Linked DNA regions of Homo sapiens: regions 1 and 2 are each linked to region 3. The links are contacts of gene promoters, found by promoter capture Hi-C in blood cells and fetal thymus (Javierre and others, 2016). All regions are on one chromosome and are shown on one strand. The core of a region is centred on a gene start or on the middle of the fragment in contact, and the rest is flanking DNA. Distances in the headings are between cores, read along the strand shown.

Region 1 (4,231 bases), core at 1,113-3,612, 330 kb after region 3:
ATAATTTCATTCTAATTGTAATTAAGGTGGGAGGAGACACCCGCTTTCTGTCTTAAGTGCATTCAGACTTGTTTGGGAACGTCAAAAAACTCGAGGAGCCAGAGCTCCCAGTAGCTATTTGCATAAGAATGGAGGATCCTCCAGGGAGGAATTCATCCCATGGGAAGATGGAGCTGCTACCGAGCTAGACCAGGAGCAGCTGGGGCCTGGATCACTGAGTGCTCATTGTGCGAATAGCCAGGAAGTGGCTCATGACCCCCTGGAACACAGCTCTGCATCTTGCAGGGGAGAGAGGGGAATCTGTATAAAAACTGTAAGCGATGTTTTACTAAAAATCCCAAAAAAGCACCTAGGTAGAAGCCTCTCAGCCTTGGGGCTCTTCCAGCGGAGTGTAGCACCAGAGGCCCTCCTAGAGCTGGCCCAGGCTGCCTGGGACTGTGGGGACGTTGCTAACGGTGGTGGTCATCATTGCACACCCAGAACTGATTTCCTGCCTGGCCCTGTGCCAAGTACTTTACCTTCATCAACTCATTTAGGTTTCAAAATAAATCTAGGAAGTAGATTCTATTTTCAGTCTCAAAATTTTACTGAAGAGGAAACTGAGGCTGACTTAACTTGTGGACAGAGCTAAGCAGTTGTTGGAAGCCAAGTGGGCCTGGTCCCAGGACACATGGCTGCCGCCCTCCTTGCCTTCCGTGCCTATTTAGGCTCTGGGAGCAACCAGGCGTGCCCATATTATTCACCCAGAGGACTGGGTGAGGTTGTGGTGGAGGGTGCTGAGCAATTCTACCTGGCTTTGCCATGAGGTCTTTGAGGTGCTCCTGGACTTGAGATAAACCTTGGGGATCTGGGTTTTGGAAACGCATCAGGTATCAGGCAGGGACCCAGAAGGAAGAAAGCAGTTAAGAGCTGTGGAGGGTAAGGTGTGCTCAGAGGCAAGAGAGGCCAGTCTGAGCTGGTGGAGGGGGCGCAGCATGAACCTGGGCAGGAGGAGTGGGAACTGGCAGGCTGGAATAACCTGGCACCCATGTTGGCACACTTGGGCACAAAGAGAACACAGTGGAGGGAGGAGAAGGTGACCTTCACTGCCCCGGGGCCCCTGAGGCCTTTGAGTTCTTCCGTCGTGGGCTCACTTGCCAAGCTTTGAGCTCTTGGTGCTGACCAAGAAGGCACAAATTGTTTATGGGCCTTGGTCAACGCCACGTGAAGATGGTATCAGAAATGAAAAAAAAATTTTTTAAAGAAGGTTGCAAAGAAACTAACATTATTGTCAATTCTCAATTATCTGTGAGGGATAAGGTTAATTGAAACACACAGATTTCAATAGCTAATAGCTTTTCTTTCTTTTGCAACCCATCTTTTACTACAGCTTCCAGAAAAAATAGCCAAAATGACTAATCAGATTTTCACACTGACTCCTTCATATCCCCCATCTGAAGTGCTGATAAGCAGTGAAATAGCCTCAGTGTGGACGCAGGAGGGAGAGGAAGGAAAAGCAGAGGTCTGGGGAACTCCCTGCCTGGAAGTGAATTTCCTAAGAAACCCAGAGCTGAGGACCAGGATATGAGGGGGAGATCTGGGCACAACAGTTGCAGCTGTCACTGAACCTCAAAGCCTCAAGGGCACCCCATAAAGCCGAATATCTTCGGAGGTGTGAAAAACAGCCTATTGAGGGGGCTTAAGGGGGAACATAGGTATACAACTGGGGTGGGCTGAACTGAGCACCAGTGAAAGAGGGAAATAAATTCAGTGACAAACTCCATGCCTCATATCATTCCTCTTCCCCTTTGTTCCTCAGGACAGTGGCTCTTGTCTGGCAAATATTTATCTAATATCTGAATTATTGGTGATGTCATGCATGCCCTTGTGTCTTAGAACATACTGTGATTTAGAACTGAAATCCTTTATCGTCCCCATTTCTGCTAAGCTGGATCTATTCTTGATGTAAAGATTTGGGATCTTGGGAAGAACATTTATATCTGAGAGGAAGGGCCTGGTGTGTAATCTCAGAAACACCCCTCCCTTTTCTTATAAGCAGGGGAAATGGGTTTTGGCTAAATAAAGGGGTTGTAAGTGAGGGTGACTGGGCAAGGGGCTGGGGACAGGGAGGGCAAGTGTTTCCCACCTTTCTTGATGGTAGGGGCTTGCCAGAGATGGAGGCAGTTGCTCCAGGGCAGGAAGAGGCAGTCTGCAGCTGGGGGAGATTAAGAAAGAGAGTGAAGCCAAGACTGCCTGGCCAGGAGAATGAGAGGCAGGGGGAGGGATGGGCTCTGTGTGGCTATAGCCTATGTTTAAACCCCTGTCTGCTGTTCAGACAGCAGCTGCCCAGAGAGAAGGCGCCACAGCCTCCCTCCTTCCTCTTGTAGCACATCGCCTGTTCTTCCTTGGCCTATGACTTTCTCACCTCTGAAAGCTGTTGCTCTGGCCTTACAGCCCAAGAGCCCAGGAGCAGTGCCCTGACCACTGCTGCGTGGTACCTCACCAGACATGCCCTTGGAGCCAAACCAAATGGGGAGTCCCAGAGCCTGCTGGGGCCGGTTGCCTGGGGCTGCATATCACCGTATATCAAAGCCGAGGAAAGAGGGTGACACCCTCAGGGGAGAGAATTCTTGAGGGCAAGCACCCACAAATGCTATTTCCATACTCTTGGTAAAACCCCCTCTTACTATTATGGGATGTGGGCAACTATGATGAAGATGAGGAGGGGGAGTTGGGCAGGAAATTTGAGCACTGTTATAATATAGAGAGGGGATTTCTATGAATTGTGAGAAAGTTTACTCTCCTGTGAGTGTGTGAGCCATTGTGCTGCTTATCTTTCTTGTGAAGTCAATAAAACTCCCTGGGATTCTATAAGCAGATGTTATCTCTGGCCATGACTTTGCTGGTCCTGAGGAGGCAAGACTTTTGAATCGCAGGGTGGGAAGTCTCAGTAGTGGTGCTGTGTTCCTGGAAAAGCAGGACTCGCAGATGGGAACGGCTTATATCCCAAGTTGTCAGGGCCTTTGGGGTTTGTCTTCCACTCCAGGAAGGGCTAGGTATGTTATTATTTGGCCGCTAATGATGCGGTCTTGGGAAAGCCACATCACCATCCCGACTTGAGCTTCTTCATCTGAAAAATGAGAGGGTTGCATACATAGTGTCAAAGGTGATCATTCACCTCTAATAGGCTTTTATTGTAAGTCTTTGGACAAACAGCTTACCTCTCTGACTCTATGTCCTTATCTACAAACGGGGATAATAATATCCACCCTTACCTTCTAATCTATGTGAAAGCACTTAGCGCTCTGGGAAGGAAAAAGCATTATTTAAATCCAGGGTAGAATTATTATTATATTCTATTTGTTCTCTCCTAGTCATTCATCATTGCTCTGCTCTACAATTATGCCCTGGGGTGAGTTATGTGAATAAACAGTCACACCTGGCAAGTTTCTTGGGAGGCTGAGCATTCTGATCGTGCTGGGGGGAAAGACACCAAAATTCTTTTATTTAGTTATTTTAGTGTGCAACTTGCTATCTATTTAGTATATAAGCCAGAACTGGAATACATTACTTTCATGCGCGTCCGTGTGAAGAGACCACCAAACAAGCTTTGTGTGAGCAATAAAGCTTTTAATCACCTGGGTGCAGGCGGGCTGAGTCCAAAAAGAGAGTCAGCGAAGGGAGATGGGGTTTTATAGGATTTGGGTAGGTAAAGGAAGGAGGGGGGTTGTTCTTTGGTGGGCAGGAGTGGGGGTCACAAGGTGCTCAGTAGGGGAACTTTTGAGGCAGGATGAGCCAGGAGAAGGAATTTCACAAGACAATGTCATCAGTTAAGGTAAGAACAGGCCATTTTCACTTCTTTTGTGGTGGAATGTCATCAGTTAAGGCAGGAACTGGCCATCTGGATGTGTACGTGCAGGTCACGGGGATATGATGGCTTAGCTTGGGCTCAGAGGCCTGACATTCCTGTCTTCTTATATTAATAAGAAAAATAAAATGAAATAGTGGTAAAGTGTTGGGACAGTGAAAAGTTTTTGGGGGTGGTATGGAGAGATAATGGGCGATGTTTCTCAGGGCTGCTTCGAGTGGGATTAGGGGCGGTGTGGGAACTTAGAGTGGGAGAGATTAAGCTGAAGGAAGATTTTGTGGTAAGGGGTGATATTGTGGGGTTGTTAGAAGAAACATTTGTCATTTAGAATTATTGGTGATGGCCTGGATACGGTTTTGTATGAATTGAAAAACGGAGTAAGAT
Region 2 (4,361 bases), core at 855-3,354, 260 kb after region 3:
AGGCAAGGGAGAGCAGGCCAGGCAGAAGGGCATTTCATCAGGCAGGACATGGAATGCTTGGAGGTTTCAGGCTCAGGCACAGAGAGAGTTCAGTATGGCTGGGACAAAAGGCAGGGAGAAGAGGGTGACAGGCTGGTGGGCCTGAGAGACAGGGACAGTCAGACCAGGGAAGGCCTTGTGTGCTGGCCAAATAGTGGGTCCATATCCTAAAAGCAATGGGGTGCCATTGAATAGCTTGCTACAGAGGAAAGACTTAGTAGTTTTAGAAAACCACTCCGAGAGCAGGGGAGATCAACCAGGACAGGGCAGCTGGAGAGGAGAGACAGGCTAGGAAGCAATGAGAGGATCCAGGACAGTGAGCTAGAAGCAGGCTGCAGAGGGCTTGATTGGGGGAGACAGCTCTCGACACTCACTTGCCCTCCATCTCAAATCAGAAAATACATAGACTGCATTTGTTCTCATAGCATTGTCATATTTAGTTCAAACTAGTATCTCTATTTGTTTACATCTAATGCCTATTGGTTATAACAAACAGTCTACAAACAACAGTATTGGGAGCCTCAGCGGCAGGTATTCTTCAAGGTCTTTACATATGTCATGTCATTTCGTCTTCCTATCAACTTCCTGGGATAGATTTCATTATCTTCACTTTACAGATAAAGAAGTTGAGGCTCAGAAAGTTCAAGAATATGGCCAGAATTGGACATGGAGAGTGGAATAATGGACACTGGAGACTCAGAAGGCGGAGGGTGGGAAGGCAATGAGGGATGAGGAATTACTCAATGGGCACAATATGCACTGTTTGGGTGATGGTCTCACTAAATGCCCAGCTTCACTGCTGTGAAATACATCCATGTAATAAACTGCATTTGTGCTCCCTAAATCTACAAAAATTACAAACAGAAAAGAATTTGCCCAGAGTCCTTCAAAGTGACAAAGCTGGGATTCCAACCAAGCATAGCATTCTCAGTGAAGTCCCATGGTGGGTTTTTGTATTTGTTTTGAAGGGGGTGAATTCCTCCCTTTTTCACCCTCCACACTTTTTAGCTGTATGTTAGCAATCCAGGTCCTTTAAGAAATTCATTTTTATATCTTCAAATTTTCCTAATTAAATAAAGGTCAAAGATTGCACCAGGTGCTGAAATGGAGGTTTTGTAATTTGTAAAATGTTTTCATCTATGTTGCCCTTGCTGGGTCCTCCTATGTTCCACTGAGCTTGGAAAGACATTGTTTTCTCCAGATGATTGATGAGGAAACTGAGGCAGAGAAGCAGACGTCATGTGATTAAATGGCATAGCCTGTGCTATGAATTTATCCTTTGCCTTTTGTCTCTCACTGACTACACTCAGGTGGCAAATGGTATCACATGAACATTCTTTGGTGCATAAAACTGAGGGAAAATGCCATTTAACTCTCCGAATGTTTCTGCCTTGGCATCCAATGCAACTCATTCAAGAAACACGCAGTACCTAAGGTGTCCAGGTACTGGGAGTTCAAAGATGCCCAGCTCAGCCCTTAGGGAGCAAGTGGTGCACAGAAGGATGGACACAGGGGAGCTGAAGGTGCGACAGGGTGGTAAGTGGCATCCCAGAGGTGTGGCCAGAACAAGCCAGCTCCTGGGGTGGGGTTACTCATTGTGCCTAGGGCGAGGTGGAAGGAAGAGATGGCCCCACAGAGGAGGTGACATTGAGACTGGCTGTGGAGGTAGAACAGCATTTCTTTAGGGAAAGAAGGGCAGAGACAACAACATCAACAGGATCACTGGTTAAGTCTTTGCTATGTGCCAGGCCCTGTGTTAAGAACTTCAGAGATATTATTCATTTGCTACTTTCAATAACTCTATAAGGCATCAACTGGTATTAGGCCCATTTTATAGATGAGGAAATGAAGGCTTAGGGAGGATTTGCACCTAGGCAGTCCGATTCCAGCTCATTCTCTCAACCACCGCAGCACAGGGCAAGCACTCAAGCTAGAGAACAGAGCTTGAGCAACACCTCAGAGGTGTAAAGGTGCCTAGCTCACTCAAGGTGCAGGGTGGATGCAAGGAGGGAGGAGGGCATAGGCCTGAAAGGGGGGTGGGGCCAGTGTGCCATGGGCCTTGCGTGAGTTTATCTTCCCAGCAAAGTTAGATAGCAGTCATGTGATCCGATCTGATTGGGTCTGTGTTTCATCTAGATACTCTGGTGCCACAAACTCAGTGCCTACAGGGGGCCAGGCCCATAAGGCAAATGAGGCAAGCAGGCCAAGCGAGAAGGAGGGGATGTTTGGCAAAGCAAAATTTTATTTGAAATGTCCTGATTTTAAAATATAGGAGACTAATTCAGATTCCTTTTTTAGAACACTTTCAGGACCAAACAAACTATGTGTGTGGGCTGCAAGTTTGCTACTGCTGACATGGAGGATGGATTGGAATAGAGAGAGCTCAGAGGCAAGGGGCTCAGTGTCAGGAGCCCATTGTAACAGTCTAGACAGAGGAAGAAGACTGGAGCATAGGCCACAGCATAGGGAGGAAGTGGAGGGGTCAGGCCTGAGATAGATTTTAAGTAGATTAAATAATATTAGTTGACTTTGAATGTGGAGAGTGGGAGAGGGAGGAGTAAAGGTTGACCTGGTAGATGATGGAGCCATTCATTCATTTAATTTTTGGACAATTATTTATTGAGTACCTACTATATCCAAGATATGGCCTGAGGAGCAGAGCTACCACAAGGAATAAGACACGATACCTTGCTGTGAAGAAGCTCTGAATCTACTGAGAAGGTCTGTTGAAAGATAAGGTCTGTTGAGAGATTTGGGGGCATGTAGGAAGAGCACCCACCCTAGTCTGAAGCAGCAGGGTGTTAGGGAAGGCTCTGCTGATGCAGGAGAAGTGCAGGTGTGAGAGAGAGGGGCACACATTGGATTTTGGATTTGTTGAGTTGGGTTTTAGCTACAGCCCAGGTTGTTCTGTGATCTGATACCACTGCTCTGTGATGCTTTTAGTTTCATGACACGTTAAGAGTCCAGACAGCTTGCTCACTCATATGACACATTCCTTTCTTGAGGTCATGCATTCCCCGTATCCTCTTTTAAGATACTTGGCATACATGTGTATACTGCTGAGAGTGTAGCAGATGCTGGCGTTACTGTCAACGTCCATTTCTTTCCTGGGTCCCTGCCCACTTGTCATCCATCTTAGGTGTTGCAATATTTGCAAGGTGAACCTGGGCTTGTTTGTTTAGATTACTCATTGCTGTTGTGGAGAATGATCTGCTTTCTTTCAGGTATTATGATTATCATATGGTGGATTAATTAGGAGGAAGACACCCTGTGCAGTTCATCACTCCACCTCCTGTCTGAGAGTGCCACACATTCTTTATTCAAACCTGGGCAAGGTTTTGCTTCATTCATTGAACACACATTTGTTGGGCACCCATCATGTGCCAGGCACTGTTCTAGGTGTTTGGGTTGCATTCGTGAACAAAGAAGGGCTCTTACCCTCATGCAGCCTTGCTTTCCTGCAGCCTAAATGATTTGTTCATGTTTATTTCTGTGTTGCTCTTTTGGGATGTGCACAGATGTGTGGCCCCCTCCCAGCCAGAAGAATGTTCCCACCAGTCCCCTCTCAAGTGAGGCTGTGTTCCCCATCATCTGAGGCTGTCCATTCTGTTCCCCTAATATGAATTGTCTGCAGCATGGCAGCTCTTTACCTTGGCTGTTGAAATCTCCACTGTACCAAACAAAACCTTAAATACTTTGCCCAAGTTCTAAATATCACCGTTCCTCTATATACTCTGAAAACAATTTATGTTCTTCTGATAAGATAATTTAACTGTATCCTTAAACCAGACCCTTTATCCTTCCCATGGATCTACTCACCAGATGCACACCTTCTGTCATAAAGCCCTTGTGGTCTTTTGTTCTCTGTCCTCAGCTAAAAGTCCTTCCTACGGGAAAGTGTTCAGATAGACCCAAAAGGGGCCTGGAACTCAGGCTTGAGCTGGTACACTGGTATGGATTTGGCAGAGCAGGATACTCAAGAAAACTTTTCTGGGGAGGTTGGTTTTCACCAGGTCACCTGGGATGCAAAGATAACCTGGGGATGAGGAGCCAAGAGGCCATTGCAGGGGTCATTTGGGCTGGGTGAGTGCCCTGCTCAAACAACAGGGGTGCAGAGACCTCTCGGAGTCATAAGCTGCTCTGTGAAGGTCTAGGAAGCTCTGGCTCGGATTGCTACCAACAGCAGTAGTTAAAAAAAAAACCAATCCTCATATCTGCAATTTCTTCATCTATTTGTACCATCCTTGATCTATGGCAGACACTTCATAGCTTCCAGGAGCCACGAAAAGGCAAGCATTGTAAAGGAAAGAGAAAAGTTAACA
Region 3 (4,232 bases), core at 625-3,124:
AGTTTCACTCTGTTACGCAGGCTGAGGTGCAGTGGCATGATCTTGGCTGACTGCAACCTCCACCTCCTGGGTTCAAGTGATTCTCCCGCCTCAGCTTTTCAAGTAGCTTCAGGTGCCCACCACCATGCCTGGCTAATTTTGTATTTTTAGTAGAGATGGGGTTTCACCACGTTGGCTAGGCTGGTCTCAAACTCCTGACCTCAAGTGATCCACCCGCCTCAGCCTCCCAAAGTGCTGGGATTACAGGCGTGAGTCACTGTGCCCAGTGTAAAGTGCATTTCTTTTCTAAACTGACTTGAACCAAAATGGATGAACAAGGACCCTTCAGATGATATACACCAAACTGGAAACAGATGAGAATGCCAGCAAATGGGCTCAGGAGGAATTTATCTTCTTGAATTTTCAGGCATAAGCTGATTTTGACAATGTTTTCTCTTACAAAAACAGGGTGAGCGTGTTCTGGATGGAGGCTGGGTGGGAACCCCAGGTCAGAGCAGATGTGGAACTGGGGCATGGGGAAGACTATACCCCAAAGAGGTGGGGGTGGGGAAGAAGATGAAAAGTGAAAGACGAATGTTCCCAGGGGCAGGAATTCATAAACTTTTTCCATTGATTCTGCCCTCTCAAGCCAATCACTTTCTGCCTTTTTGGACCAAATTGGGAAAGCCTGGACAGTCTGCTACAAACCAGACCAGAGCCTTTCCTTGTCAACAGAGCAGCGCTTCCTAAACTTATACTGCGTTAAAAATCACATGGGAATTTGTTAAAAATGCAGTGTCTGGAGGCCTCCTAGAGGTTCTGATTTAGTTGGTCTGAGTCAGGGTCCAAGAATTTGTATCCAGAGCAAGTATCCCGGCGATTCTTCTGCTTGGACAGGGTTGGGACAAGGCGTCGGCCAGTCATCCACATTGTCTTTTTGCAGATCCACTAATCTTCCATGCAGGCTCCAACAGCTCCTTCCCGGCCTGGGAACCCAAATCCGCAGGAAGAATCTCGGGGTGTTGTCTTGGCTTATTCATTCAGAGCTGTCGTGTGTGGTTCTGCAAACAGTACTCAGATGCGTTCCCTCTCCCCGTAGGGATCTTGCTGGAGATGCCCAGGGTTAACAGTGGAACTCCATATGGAGACAGAGGCATGGGGGGAGCTTCGCTGGAGATGGGACAGCCTGCTCCACCGCGAAGCCTACTGAGGCTCTCTTCTTACGTACCCCGCGCAATCTCATCTCCCTGAACAACTTCCACCTCCACCTTTCAGCTCATTCCCTAATGTCTGCTTCTGTTGGAACTCCACAATCTCATCTTTATCTGCCTAGGTGTGTTACAGTAGGTAGCTGTCAGGTATGAGCAGGGCAGGAGAGGGTCTGTTCCAATAGCAGGAACCTCAGGTGACCATCAGGTGATGGTCAGGCGGCTGTTAGTCTGTCGCTCTAAAATAATAATTGGTCGCAGCCGGTGCTAGGGAAAGACAGGCTCCCAGTAGATAGAAAACACCTGAAACGGGTGATAAGCAGCTTCCCGGTAAGATCTTAGCAGTTGGGCGAGTGTACTCAAGCATGAGCACTAACAGGCAGAATGCCAGAGTTTAACTGGTATATGACCTTCTAGGGACATTCGACTGATAAGGGAAGAACGCCTCACGTGAGCATGTGTACAACTCCTGCATGCGTACAAACACACTGCGCATGCTCCCCTCCCAGGCGCTGGCAGGCCACACACTGCGCATGCTCCCCTCCCAGGTGCCGGCAGGCCACACACTGCGCATGCTCCCCTCCCAGGTGCTGGCAGGCCACACACTGCGCATGCTCCCCTCCCAGGTGCTGGCAGGCCACACACTGCGCATGCTCCCCTCCCAGGTGCTGGCAGGCCACTGCGCAAGTGTGGACAGCCTACACCAAGGGAAGAGTCAGGGGAGAAGGAACACAAGACTCCGGAAGCATGCCAGCGTATAAAACCGTAAGTCAAAGGTCAGACTGTCCAGTGGGTGATCTCTCAAGTCGCCCGCTTGGCCTCTTCCAAGTGTACTTTACTTCCTTTCATTCCTGCTCTAAAACTTTTTAATAAACTTTCATTCCTGCTCTAATACTTGCCTCAGTCACTCCTGCCTTACCACAATATTTTTTAAAACAAAATCAATACCAAAAAGCCCATGATAAACAACATATCAAAATTTTATAAAAGCAGGCTGTTTGGTTTGTTTTACGACCTTGCGTTACTGCAAGAGAGGAGCCGTTTCCAATCAGGCTTTGGATCCTGGGCTTATGTGGCTGCTGTGTCCCTGCCATGGATCTGTGAGGGTTGACAATGGGGTACAAACAAATTGGGCAATATATATATACACATATATGTGTATATACATATATACACATATATGTGTATATATACATATATACACACATACATGTGTATATATATACATATATACATATATACACACATACATGTGTATATATATACATATATACATATATACACATACACATATATGTGTATATATATAATATATACATATATACACATACACATATATGTGTATATATATAATATATACATATATACACATACACATATGTGTATATATATAATATATACATATATACACATATACACATATATGTGTATATATATAATATATACATATATACACATATACACATATATGTGTATATATAATATATACATATATACATATATGTATATGTGTGTATATACACACATATATGTATATATGTATATATGTACATACACACACACACACACACATATATATAGTTTGTTTGTATTTTGAGAGGGAAGAAAGATGAAAGAAAGGGAGGGCTTAAAAAATTTTTTTTGAGACAGCATCTTGCTCTGTTGCCCAGGCTAAAGTGCAGTGGCACCATCATGGCCCACTGTTGCCTCAACCTCTCAAGCCCCATCAATTCTCCCACCTCAGCCTCCCGAGTAGTTGGAACTATGGGTGTGTGCCACCATTCTTGGGTACTTTCTAAAAAATTTATTAAAATATTTGAGACAGGGTCTTGCTTTGTTGCCAGGCTGGAGTGCAGCGGTGCAATCACAGCTCACTGCAGTCTTAACCTCCTGGGCTCAAGCAATCCTCCTGCCTCAGCTGCCTGAGTAGCTGGGTTCACAGGTACGTGCCACCACGGCCAGCTAATTTTTTTGATTTTTAGTAGAGACGGTGCCTTGCTATGTTGCCCAGGCTGATCTCGAACTCCTGGATTCAAGCAATCCTTCCGTCTTAACGTCCTAAAGTGCTGGGATTTCAGGCATGAGCCACCATGCCCAGCCTCTTGGATATTTTTATTAGATTTTTTTTTTTTTTTGTAGAGATGGGGGTCTTGCTGTGTTGCCCAGGCTGGTCTTGAACTCCTGGGCTCAAATCATCCTGCCTTGGCCTCCAAAAGTGTTGGGATTACAAGTGTGAACCACTGTACCTGGCCTTTTTATTTTTGTTTTAAAAGAGAGAAGAAAGGGAGATGGGGGGAAGGAGGCTTTATATATATATATATATATATATATATATATAATTTCTTATTTTTATTTTTTTTAGATGGAGTCTTGCTCTGTTGCCCAGGCTTGAATGCAATGGTGCGATCTTGGCTCACTGCAACCTCTGCCTCCCAGGTTTAAGCGATTCTCCTGCCTCAGCCTCCCTAGTATCTGGGATTACAGGTGTATGCCACCACACCTGACTAATTTTTTTGTATTTTTAGTAGAGATGGGGTTTCACCACATTGACCCAGCTGGTCTCAAACTTCTGACCTCAAGTGATCCACCTGCCTCCGCCTCCCAAAGTGCTGGGATTATAGGCGTGAGCCATCGTGCCCGGCTGAGGCTTAATTTTTTGATTGGAGACTTTTAAATGACGTTTTTCCACTTGGTTCAAAGCATGGGAAGATATTTTGATAAGCGCATATAGGGACACACACGTTTCCTTCTGTCTCGGGCTCCAAGAGGGCCTAGCACAGCAGTGCTCACTGATGATCAGGCCTCTCCTTCCAGTGCTCTTCACACACAGACCATGTCTAGATTCCTCCTTTCGGGATGGAAGCCCTGTGGGGGCAGAGCCAACCTCTCCCGTTGCTTCTCTCTTTGTCTATCTCTGCTCCAGCATAAGGAGGGCTTGCAGCTGGCTGAATGAGCCTTGGTTTTCCTTGCAGCCTCACCTTCAGACAGACTTTTCTGACCTGCATACCTGGTCCAATGCTGTCAGTTGACTAGTTTGGGTTTTTT

What was found. The method cuts DNA at HindIII sites, captures the fragments that hold promoters and counts their contacts. A CHiCAGO score of 5 or more calls a contact.
Region 1: a contact is called between a fragment that was not itself captured here and the fragment with the promoter of GPRC5D-AS1 in region 3, in 2 of 17 cell types (M1 macrophages and monocytes). The highest score is 5.5, in M1 macrophages.
Region 2: a fragment that was not itself captured here is called in contact with the fragment with the promoter of GPRC5D-AS1 in region 3 in 1 of 17 cell types (monocytes); the score reaches 6.3 in monocytes.

What each region holds. Positions count from the first base shown.
Region 1 is chr12:13,256,087-13,260,317 of GRCh38, forward strand. No RefSeq gene overlaps it. Among named protein-coding and RNA genes, the nearest start is that of EMP1, 61 kb to the left of the region's middle. RefSeq lists an enhancer at 683-1,549. The HindIII fragment of the contact is 2,446 bases long and covers 1,140-3,585 here.
Region 2 is chr12:13,184,481-13,188,841 of GRCh38, forward strand. No RefSeq gene overlaps it. Among named protein-coding and RNA genes, the nearest start is that of EMP1, 10 kb to the right of the region's middle. RefSeq lists enhancers at 1-82, 83-583. The HindIII fragment of the contact is 6,638 bases long and covers 1-4,361 here.
Region 3 is chr12:12,925,852-12,930,083 of GRCh38, forward strand. GPRC5D-AS1 (GPRC5D and HEBP1 antisense RNA 1) reads left to right here and starts at 1,875. Exons shown (of 3, transcript NR_149067.1): 1 at 1,875-1,952. The HindIII fragment of the contact is 5,226 bases long and covers 1-4,232 here.